2 separate regions of the Homo sapiens genome follow, and region 1 is linked to region 2. The links are contacts of gene promoters, found by promoter capture Hi-C in blood cells and fetal thymus (Javierre and others, 2016). All regions are on one chromosome and are shown on one strand. The core of a region is centred on a gene start or on the middle of the fragment in contact, and the rest is flanking DNA. Distances in the headings are between cores, read along the strand shown.

The links. Contacts are between HindIII fragments. The CHiCAGO score rates a contact against its expected background, and 5 or more counts as called.
Region 1: a fragment that was not itself captured here is called in contact with the fragment with the promoter of HPS1 in region 2 in 1 of 17 cell types (M1 macrophages); the score reaches 6.2 in M1 macrophages.

What each region holds. Positions count from the first base shown.
Region 1 is chr10:99,356,187-99,361,436 of GRCh38, reverse strand. CNNM1 (cyclin and CBS domain divalent metal cation transport mediator 1) reads right to left here. Exons shown (of 11, transcript NM_020348.3): 2 at 3,782-3,925; 3 at 462-602. Among named protein-coding and RNA genes, the nearest start is that of CNNM1, 29 kb to the right of the region's middle. RefSeq lists enhancers at 2,141-2,807, 2,808-3,475. The HindIII fragment of the contact is 1,648 bases long and covers 1,455-3,102 here.
Region 2 is chr10:98,443,052-98,448,296 of GRCh38, reverse strand. It overlaps HPS1 (HPS1 biogenesis of lysosomal organelles complex 3 subunit 1), which reads left to right and starts at 1,362. Exons shown (of 20, transcript NM_000195.5): 1 at 1,362-1,490; 2 at 2,893-2,997; 3 at 5,057-5,173. The coding sequence starts at 5,057. It overlaps HPS1-AS1 (HPS1 antisense RNA 1), which reads right to left and starts at 1,976. Exons shown (of 3, transcript NR_134454.1): 1 at 1,540-1,976. RefSeq lists a silencer at 1,195-1,544. The HindIII fragment of the contact is 10,907 bases long and covers 1-5,245 here.

The DNA.
Region 1 (5,250 bases), core at 1,029-3,528, 910 kb before region 2:
TCTTCACAAGAAGGAGTTTATCTTTGGATTTTCTCACTTTTTTTTCTTTCTAAAGATCCCAAGATTCACAATACACTTCTGTATTTTAAAAATTCATAGCTCACAGGCTTCTGTGGCACTGCTCTAGGGCACTGCAAGTCTAACAGACAGGGAGATGGCCTCGGGCTTCAGCGAGGAAGTGAGTAGAAGAGGGAAAAGTGCAGCAATGGTTTCTTTAGCTCTTTTCTCTGGTAGAAGAGTTGAGTTATACTCATTTCTTCCTCTATGAGATCAGGCCTGGGGCTCAATACGACAGTAGGTGGCATCCATTACCCTGTCTAAGGCAACCTCCTTCCTAGAACAGTGCTTCTCAGTCCTGACAGCACACTGGAATCAGGCTGGAAGGTATTAACAACGATTGGTGCCTGGGTCCCACCCTAGAGATTCTGTTTTAGCTTCTCTGGAGTGGAGACTTGTCCTACCTGTGGCCATGAAGCGGTGTGTGGCTAGCAGAAGCTGTGGTGAGATCTTCACCCGCATCTCCGTGTCCGAAAGCTTAAACAAGGAGAAGTCATGCCGCTTCCGCTCCCGTTGCGGGACCCTCTGCTTTTTCCGATTGTCAGCTGTGGGGTCACAGAGGACAGATTACAGCTATCTCAGAATCACGTTGATCTTTGGAGGTTTTCCCAGAATCACAGGGGACAGATAGAACATTTCTGCAGTGTCAACTATGGGTGACATCACAATATCACCCAGGAAGTAGAAGGATGTTGGTGAGGGATAGACAATGGGAGACTGCCATCATTTCAGTGTTTTCCACACTTAGGGGGTGTATAGTAGAAAAAGGGGAAAGCAGGCTTGGGGTACCCAAGTCTGGGGTTCTGGGGCTGGTTCCCCTACTTACCATGTAATCTCTCTAAGCATTAGAGTTTTTATTTTAATCTGTACAAGGAGGCTAATAATATTTAATATAGCTCTCATACTCATCTTGTGCAATTAATTATGAGACTCCAACTGGAAACTACCTGTGAGAATGCTTTTACCCAAAGTCATACACACACAAGGGACCTGCATTCTTAGTATCAAGAGGGTTGCAGGGGCCCAGGGAATTTCTGACTCTGTCCCCCTCCTTTGCCCTGAACTGGCCTCACCTAGTCTCCTGCTGCTTATGTGAACCATGCTCTGAGTGGTACCTGAAGCATGCCACACAAGGAAGGAGGGCGGCCACCACCTCTTATTTCACAATTTCCCTGCTTCAACCCCAGTCCCTCCACTGGGAGGGAATCAGGGGAAATATAGGGAAGAAGAGAGGAGAAGAAATAAGATTGGACCTATAATCTCTAAAGGTGGGTTTTCTGGATGGGGGCCTCAGGCAGGGTCTGGTACCTCCCAAGAGCCTATGTATCAGGCATGTAATTATTGGTTGAAAACATTTGCTTTTTCCAATTTAATTTGTTCTCATTCTTTTTAAAGCTTGTCTAAATATATCTACTTCCCCCCCGGCCCCCGCTTTTTTTTTTGTTTTTTTTTTTTTGGTAGAGGAAATGTTTTCTTTGGTTCTTTCTCTTTTGCTTTCCCTGAGTTTTGAGTAAAATTTTGAAACTGCTAGCCCATCTTACCTGCACTAAGGGGAACAGGGAGAGGGATTTGGGTTTTCTCCAAACTTCGCCTAAAGAGAAACAGGGCTGTGGGGGAACGTCTGGTGCAAGCTGAGTGGATGCAGTGAGAATGAAAGGGAATGAACCCCTGTGGCAGGAAAATAAGGCCCCAGAATCCGGCTCCCTGGTGTGCCCCCTCTCCTTTTGGGGCCTGCTTTTGGGTTTCCTTCTAGAAGGGTCAAAGTGCCCTCCTGCCGGTGCAGCTCTTCCATGGCCCGCTCTGACTCTGGGCCTTCACAGTCATCTGGCCCCTGCTTTGACACTCCTTTTGCTCAAGTCACAATGGGCAGACCCAGACCCAGGTGTCCAGATCACGTAAGAGGTCAGGGTCATGCAAGAAGAAAGACAGTATCCCTGGCTTCTGGGCCTTTTCATAGCTCTTAGGGAATCATGCCAGCAGCTATTTATAGGTAGAAAGACCCTAACCTGCTCCTGTAGAAAGAGGATCACTCAGCAAAAGAGTAGCAAAATACAGGCTATTAGCCCAGCTCTTTCGCTCTCACTAGTGAGCAACTTTCTGATTTGTATGATAAGTTTGCCTAAATAGCCCCCCTCTCCCCCATCAGATTGCCACTTAACATGGCATTATTAGGAAATCATTCCTCTCATCGCCCCCTTCTCCTTAGATTTCAATAGTGTGTGTTGGAAGCCTTAAGGTTGTTCAAACAAGTGCCCTGGGAGGAGCTTACTCATTTAGACTATTATCAGTACCTAACACCTTAGTGTGAATGGCTTCACTAGTTTATCTGAGACACCTGGGATTTTTTTTTTTTTTTTTTTTTTTTTTTTTTTTTTGAGACAGTCTTGCCCTGTCACCCAGGCTCCCATGCTGGAGTGCTGTGGCACAATCTCCACTCACTGCAGCCAGGACCTCCCAGGCTCAAGTGATCCTCCCACCTTGGCCTCTCAAGTAGCTGGGACTACAGGCACACGTCACCACGCCTGGCTAACTGTTGTATTTTTTGTAGAGATGGGGTTTCACCATGTTGCCCAGGCTACACCTGAGAATTCTAAATCAAGAGTGGCAGGCAGAGGTGGGGGAGGGAGAGGACATTTCCGAGCTCGTTCCTCATGTGAGGAAGACACGCCTGGTCCGGGCAAGCACAGCAGTGCCCAGGCTCTTGGAGGGAGGTGCCATGACTCTCTTGCTTGTCTTTGCCAAGGCCTGGCCCACCTTTTAGAGTTGATCTCTTCTTTGTCTAAAAGGAAGGCACTCTTTCTGCACTGCTCACTGCCTTATGGTATCAAAGCTCTTTCTACCAGGAGCCAGTTTCTGAAAGGCCGCATCTCACAAACTAAGGACCAAAGTCTGAAACGAGTTATCTGCAAGGAAGAAAAGGATGGCTATTCCATGAGATGAAATTCTCAGGAGGAAACACTTCCCAGCCTAGGGACTCCCATGGACTTAGATAACATTCCAATCCTAAAGACAAAGCATGCCTTTGTAATGTTTGCAAGCAAAGCTTTGATAAGGTTCAGTAACCCAAAGTACTCACATCTGCATAGAAAAGTCTGTATTGTTCCTGAGTGAGGGAGTTAGGAGGGGCAGCAGACCAGAAAGAAGGAAGCAGAGACAAGAGCAGGGATGCTGGTGGCAGGGAGAGAACAGAAACCCAGGGTGGTGGGCTGAAAGGCAGAAGAGGACAGGGAAGTTTGTAAGAAGGAGTATTCAGTTTTTGGCTTAGGCTGTGAGTAGGCAATCTCATGACAGTCTCCACTGCTCACTGCGATGTTCTGATGTGAGTGGAACCCCTGTTGGGGTCTGCATCTAGGTGGATGAAGCAACCAAACAAGAACACAGGGGACAGAAACAAGGGCAGAGAGGCCTCTGGGCACCGTCCTGGGAACACTGTGTTTCCTGTAGTCCCGTTTCTATCCAAAGGCTGGGAGGTCTCCTTTTCATAGTCTTGGCTCAGTTCCTGAAGGTTCCCTCCTGATAAACACTTAGCTAGCATGTTCCCAGTGACTCAGAAGTGATTCCAACTAGGGTATCTTGCCACAGCAGCACCTGGCATAGGTGGCTGACACACATCAGGGCACAGGGTTTGCCCTGACACCCTTTCTATAAATCAAATGAGGCTTTACCTGAGAGTCTTGGAGGAAAATAAGATGACCCTGGAGAACAGCCAAGGCCGTGCACTTACTGTAGAGATCAGTTTCATCCAGGATCTCCGACTTGATAATCTCCTCTATGATATCCTCCAGCGTGACAATGCCCATCACCTCATAGAAAGGGTCCCCTTCTCCCTCATTATTCACCCGCTGGACAATGGCCAGGTGAGATTTTCCTAGAGAACAAATGAAATCACAGTTAAGTATCGGGGACATTTTCAGAGATCTTTTTTTGTGAGAAAAATGATACAAAGTTGCTGTCTGACCAATCTCAGGATTGCACTCATCCCTGGACCTCCTTAAAATATGAAGTTTTTATGCAAGCGCTTATAAATGCAAGGGCTTATAAATGCAAACCTTATTCTTCTAGATTTGTGTTTCTATTTAGGGAAGTTACTGAATATATTCAAAACCAGTTAGTTTTTTTTCTTTGAACTTTTACATATTAGCAAGTATATGTTAGCTGATATAATATATACTAATTGAAAGAGCAAGAATTTAGAGTCAGAATTATGGTAAAAGTCATTCTCCTCCCCTAAGCCCCCTTCCCCACTAACTATCCCAGTTACTATTCCTTGACAAATCATTTAATCTCCACTGAATTACCATCTCTCATCTAGAATCAGGAAATAATGCCAGTGTGGTGATTTTAAAACATGGCCTTTGTGGTATGCCTCCCACGGAGAGGTGTGATCTACAGCCCCTCCCCTTGAATCTGGGGGGGCTTGTGACTACTTCAACCAAAAGAGAATGGGAAATGAATGTTCATTATAGGACTTCTGAGGCCAGGTCATAAAGGCATGTAGCTTTTGCTGCAAGAACATTGTAAGAAGTCTGACTACTACCCTGAGGCCACCATAGTGGAGAGGCCACATGTAGGTGCTTAGGTGCCAGTCCCAGCTGAGCCCACCCTTCCAGGTTTCCCACCAAAGTGCCAGGCAGTTTGGCAGAAGAAGTGGTCTTGGAAGTGGATCTGCCAGTCTCAGCTGATCCAGCCCCTTGTCTCACTCACTCCCCAGCCTTTCTTTCTTCCCTCCCTCCCTCCTTTCTTTCTTTCTTTTCTTTTCTTTCTTTCTTTCTTTTCTTTCTTTCTTTCTTTCTTTCTTTCTTTCTTTCTTTCTTTCTGTCTGTCTGTCTGTCTGTCTGTCTTTCTTTCTTTCTTTCTCTCTTTCTCTTTCTCTCTCTCTCTCTCTCTCTCTCTTTCTTTCTTTCTGAGATGGAGTCTCTCTCTGTCGCCAGGCTGGAGTGCAATGGTGTGATCTCAGCTCACTGCAACCTCCGCCTTCCGGGTTCAAGTGATTCTCCTACCTCAGCCTCCCGAGTAGCTGGGACCACAGATGAGCACCACCACGCCCAGCTAATTTTTGTATGTTTAGTAGAGATGGGGTTTCACCATGTTGGCCAAGATGGTCTCGATCTCTTGACCTCATGGTCCATCTGCCTCGACCTCATGATCCACCTGCCTCGGCCTCCCAAAGTGCGGGGATTACAGGCATGAGCC
Region 2 (5,245 bases), core at 113-2,612:
TATTTTACCACAAACAAATTTGAAAAAAAGAAACATGTTGACACAAAAAACCCGTACATAACTAAAAAATAGATTATATTGGATTACATAAAAATGTAAAACTTTGGTGCTACAAATGATACCACTAAGAAAGTGAAAAGACAAGCCACATAATGGGAAAAAAACTTTTGCAAATCAAGTATCTGATAAGGGGCTTGTAACCAGAGCATATAAAGAACTCTTACAACTCAATAATAAAGACAATTTAAAAATGGATAAAGGATTTGAATAGACATTTCTCCAGAGAAGGTACACAAATAGGCAAAAAGCACATGAAAAGATGCCGAACGTCAGGGAAGTGCAAATAAAATCACAAGACACCACTCCACGCTGGGTTACTATACTTAAAAAAAAAAAAATCAACAATAACAAGCATTGGTGAGGATGTGGAGAAATCAGAATCCTCATACATTGCAGTTGGGAAATGGAAATTACCAGTAGGGGAATGAATAAGTAAATAACAGCATATCCATTTGATGGAATTCATTCGACCACTGAAAGCATAGTGAGTGAACGATCTCAACGGTGGGCTGAGCAAAGAGATGCGTGTGGCAGGGCTATGTGCTGTAGATGGGGAGTTGGAAGAATTTGCCCTAAGGTGGGCTGGAAGGGGTGGGTAGTGGGTTGGGGGGAGTGATGCTCTCTTTGATCTGCAGGTGGTGGAAGTATTGATTCTTAGCCTCTGCCTTTCCCCCAAGAGATGCTCAATCTACTATATCCCCAGCCAGTTCTTGCAACCCATACCTTGCTGGGCTGGGCTCAAAGCTCCCAGGTGGCACCCAGGCACTGAGGGGTGGACTGTTCGGGGATTTAGGCCCTTCCAGAGCGCCCCCTCCACTTCCAGGCACCCCCAATACACATACGATTTTTTAAAATAAATATTGCAAACATAGGTTCAACACAAAACTCCTAATGTGCACTCCACTCCCAAAATAGATTGAGAACTCCTATAAATTCCAGCGTTGGCACTCTGGGGGCAACTGAGCCCTTCTGTGCGCTATGTCACCTCCCCAAAGGTCAGGGAGAGCAGTCACAAAAGGACAGCTCTAGCCCCAGAACTTCAGTTCATTAGGCAAAGCCTGAGGTTCCGGGGCATGGGGAGGAGAGAAGGGATCAGCTGAGGAGCCAGGAAACCTGGGTTCTGAGCCTGGTTCGGACCCTCAGCAAGTTATTTCTTCTCTCTGCGCCTCCGTTTCCTCTTCTGTAAAATGGGGCATGGGCAAGGCCTGGCAGGGGCGGGGCTCGAACCCGCGGAAGGCGACGGCGGCTCCGGCCCCTCCCGGGGCGGGCGGTCACGTGCGCGATCACGCGGTCCTACCCGGAAGCGCGCCCGGGCTCCTGCAGGCGGGGCGCTGTGCGCGCCGCGATCCGGTACGTGGGCCTCCGGGCTGTCCCCTCTGGGGGCGGCGATCCTCCCTCCGGAGCCCCCCTTCAACCCTCCCGGAAGTGAGGTAGGGTCCCTAGGGGTCCCGGAGCGGGCCCACTCCTAGCCTCACCCACTCCGGGCGTGTGGCCGTGGGCCGGTCGCTTCCTCGCTCGGGGCCAAAGTTCCTCAGCCGTGAAGAGGGGTGGATGTCACAAGTCAAGCCTCCTTCCCAGGGTGGCCGTGAGGTTCGGGGGTGGGGGGAGGTGGGGATTTGGGGTGAAACTGGACAGAAACTGGCGTGCTAGGCAAACGGGAGCCCCGCGGCGGCGAACTGCTGACTCGCTCTCTCCAGAGACTCAGGGGCAGGGCCGGGCTCCGAAGGTGTGGGACCCCAGAAGGAGCTGCTGAAGACGGGACCAAGGGCCACAGGGAGGTTTGCTGGGGTCCAGATGGTGAAAGTGGGCGCTGGGGGTCGCCCCAGGTTGGCCCCCCGCCATCTGGAGCTCCTTTCGTCAGTGAGTCCCCTCCGAGTTCCCTTTCTAGGGCAAGATAGCGAGGTGAAGCGGAAGTCTCAGTGTGACACCGGCGAGGTTCTCTTCCCAGCAGCCTTTGGGAAGCATCCCCCTGTTTCGGGAATATGGCATTCGGGCCAATCATGTGGGTGATGGAGCCCGTCTCAGGGTTCGGCTGCTAAAGGCCGAACTCGTAACAGCAGTCTCTGTGGCGGGTAGTCACTTGCCTCTTACTGGCTCACAGTGCTTGACTTCCTAATTAAGTTTTCTGTTGTTCCTGCCCTCTATTCAAATATGAATGATTCCGGAACCAGATTGATTAATCCTGTTATTTGAAGAAGGGAAGCTGGGAAATAGGAATAATGATCCCCACACCTATGTAAGAACGCAGTTTGCTAAGGTTACTTTGCAGCTTGCCTGGTCACTCCCATGATCTAACCCTGTAGGGAGGTAGAGTAGGGGATGTTGCTCTGTTTCTCCGCAGGAGTTTGAGGCTCAGAGAGGTTTATGGGACTTGGCAAAGCCAAAACTAGAACCTGGTCCCAGATGCCTTTCCTGTTAGTTTCCTTCCATTCATCGTATCATCCCAGGATCCCCACTCCCTTCACCGGGACTGCATCCTCACCACCTGGGATGTGCTATGCTGTCTCCCGTCAGTCACTCCTAGCAAGCTCCCTGGGGCTGCTTGGGGAGCTCTGAGTGACCCGCAGAAGTGAGAGCACTTCATGGGAACAAAGGAGGAAGGAACAAAAGTGGGCACCTGCTCTGTGCAAAGGGCTGTGCTGGCCGGGTTCCTATTCTCCATTATGGGAGGTGAGGGGCAGGATCCCAGATATGTTCTTAGCAGACTGCCTCAGGGCCTGGAGAGACCAGGGACCACGCAGCCCTTCTCCAGCTTGTCCTTTCTCAACGGGCAGCAGTCAAGACCAGGGCATCTGCCTGCCCTCATATTCTCTCTGTTTTAAGCATTTGCAGGACCAGGGATGCTGTGCTGCTCTCCCATGAGCCAGTCACCGAGTCGGTCTGCTGCAGCCCTTTCTGAACCTCTGGCCGTCTGGATGCTCCACTGTGCTTGCCAAGGTAGATGATCTTGCCCCACCTGGGGAGGACAGGGAGGCAGGCAGCATCCACCCTGGGGCTTTGGGAGGCAGATGGAATGAGGTAGGCAGTGGACTGAGTGCTACTGGGCTCTGCACACCTGCTCATCCCCTCCCCAGCCCTGCATCCTGAGGCCACCCCCATCCTGATGCCTCATCTCTCCTTCACCCCTCGAATCCAGGCAGGTCATCACAGCCTGCTGCATCTTTAAAGCTCCTCCCAGCCCCCACCAAGGGGTGAGCACTCATTACCTGACACCCGCACCTAGATGACCGCCTTCATGACCTTGACCTGCCCATCTCCAGCCAGCCGGTCACTTCTCCGCTCACAACCACAGCCTCCATTCCATAGCCCACTGCTCCCTAACCCATACACTCTGGTCAGCTTTGTCACATGTACCTGGGAGTCCCAGAGCAGCCTCTTCAGGTCCACCCGCCTCTCCCAGCAACCTCCTTTTCACACCTGTTGCACTCTCAGTGTCTGCCTTGGCATTGAGTAATTCTGTGGGAATAGGCTGCATTCCTTCTTCACTGTGCTGTTATGTCTCCTGGCATTTGCCATAAATACCTTGGGACCAGTTGCACCAAGTTAGTTTGGGAGGAATTCAGTAAGGACCACTAAGCTGGACATGGGGATGACGGAACACAAGACCTGGAGATGCTGTGATCCTCCCAAGAAAACTGGAAATCCACTTGTGTGAGAGTTACAGCAGAGCTTCCTAATCATTGTCATGGCTTAGCGCACATACCACATGATTATATCTGCGTGACACCCTGAGGCACATAAGAGGATTTGAAACCACTGCCTGAGGCCTCTTAGCTGCAGCAGCCAGCCTGGAGCACTGTCCTCACCAGCCTGGTCAGGCTGCCCCAAGTTTTAGAAGATCGAGGGTTTGCCGCACGCAGAGGGCCATGGCACACAGTGTGGGAAGCTGTATTAAAGATCTTCCAGTGGGTGAATAGTTAAGACATTTCTTACATAATCAAGCACAGAGTGTGTGGTGTGTGTGTGTGTGGCGGGGGGGTGGGGAAGGAGATTTGGGAGGGCTGAAGACACTGGTGGCTGTGGCCCTAGAAGCTGCAGCCTACTAGGTACAGGGGCTTTAGGCAGCCTCTGTTCTCACCATGAACAGGGAGAGCAGCATTTGAATGAAACTTCTGTGGTGCTGAAGTAAATTCAGGGGCTTTGAGGCTCATCTTCTGGAGCTGTTTTTTGTTTGTTTGTTTGTTTGTTTGTTTGTTTTTTCAGACAGAGTCTCGCTCTGTCACCCAGGCTGGAGTGCAGTGGTGTAATCTCGGCTCACTGCAACCTCTGCCTCCCGGGTTCAAGCAATTCTCCTGCCTCAGCAGTTATCCCGAGTAGCTGGGATAACAGGCACTTGCCACCATGCCTGGCTAATTTTTGTATTTTTAGTAGAGACGGGGTTTCACCATGTTGGCCAGGCTGGTCTCGAACTCCTGACTTCAGGTGATCCACCCCCCTTGGCCTCCCAAAGTGCTGGGATTACAGGCGTGAGCCACCGCGCCCAGCCCTGGAACTGTTTTTATCTGAGGGAGAGATATCTCTGGACTGCCCAGAGATGGAGGTGCACCAGTGCCCTCCGATCCACACCAGGCACTAACTGGCTGCCGTGAGCATGGCCTCCCTGGGCATTCGGCTCCATGTCTAGGCCAAGACCTGGGTCCCTTCCTGTGCCAGTCTGGTTCCAGTAGGCCCCGTGGTGGGTCTGTTGCTGTGCTGAGAGGGACCAGATACCACAGAGGAAAGGGCCCCAGCCTTGGCATCAAACAGGTCTGGGTCCAGATCCCAGCTTTGCCACTTCAGGCTGTGCCTGTGTCCTGCTCTCTAAAATGGGGGTACCTGAAGAGTTCTACTTTGTCCAGTTGTGAGGGTGCAACAAAAATGGAAGTCCCTTGTGATGCCTGGTGTGCAGAAGGGGCTCACTGAATGTTTGCTGAGGTTGGGGTCCTCTTCGTTACTCAGACTGAGCTCATAGATGTTGGGGCTGGAGGCTGACCTTGACCTTGCCTTTCCCTGGCAGATGAAGTGCGTCTTGGTGGCCACTGAGGGCGCAGAGGTCCTCTTCTACTGGACAGATCAGGAGTTTGAAGAGAGTCTCCGGCTGAAGTTCGGGCAGTCAGAGAATGAGGAAGAAGAGGTGAGTGCAGGGTAGGCAGTCCCAGGAGGGGTGGATAGGAAGGAACCATACAAAACTCCCAGCAGGCAGAGA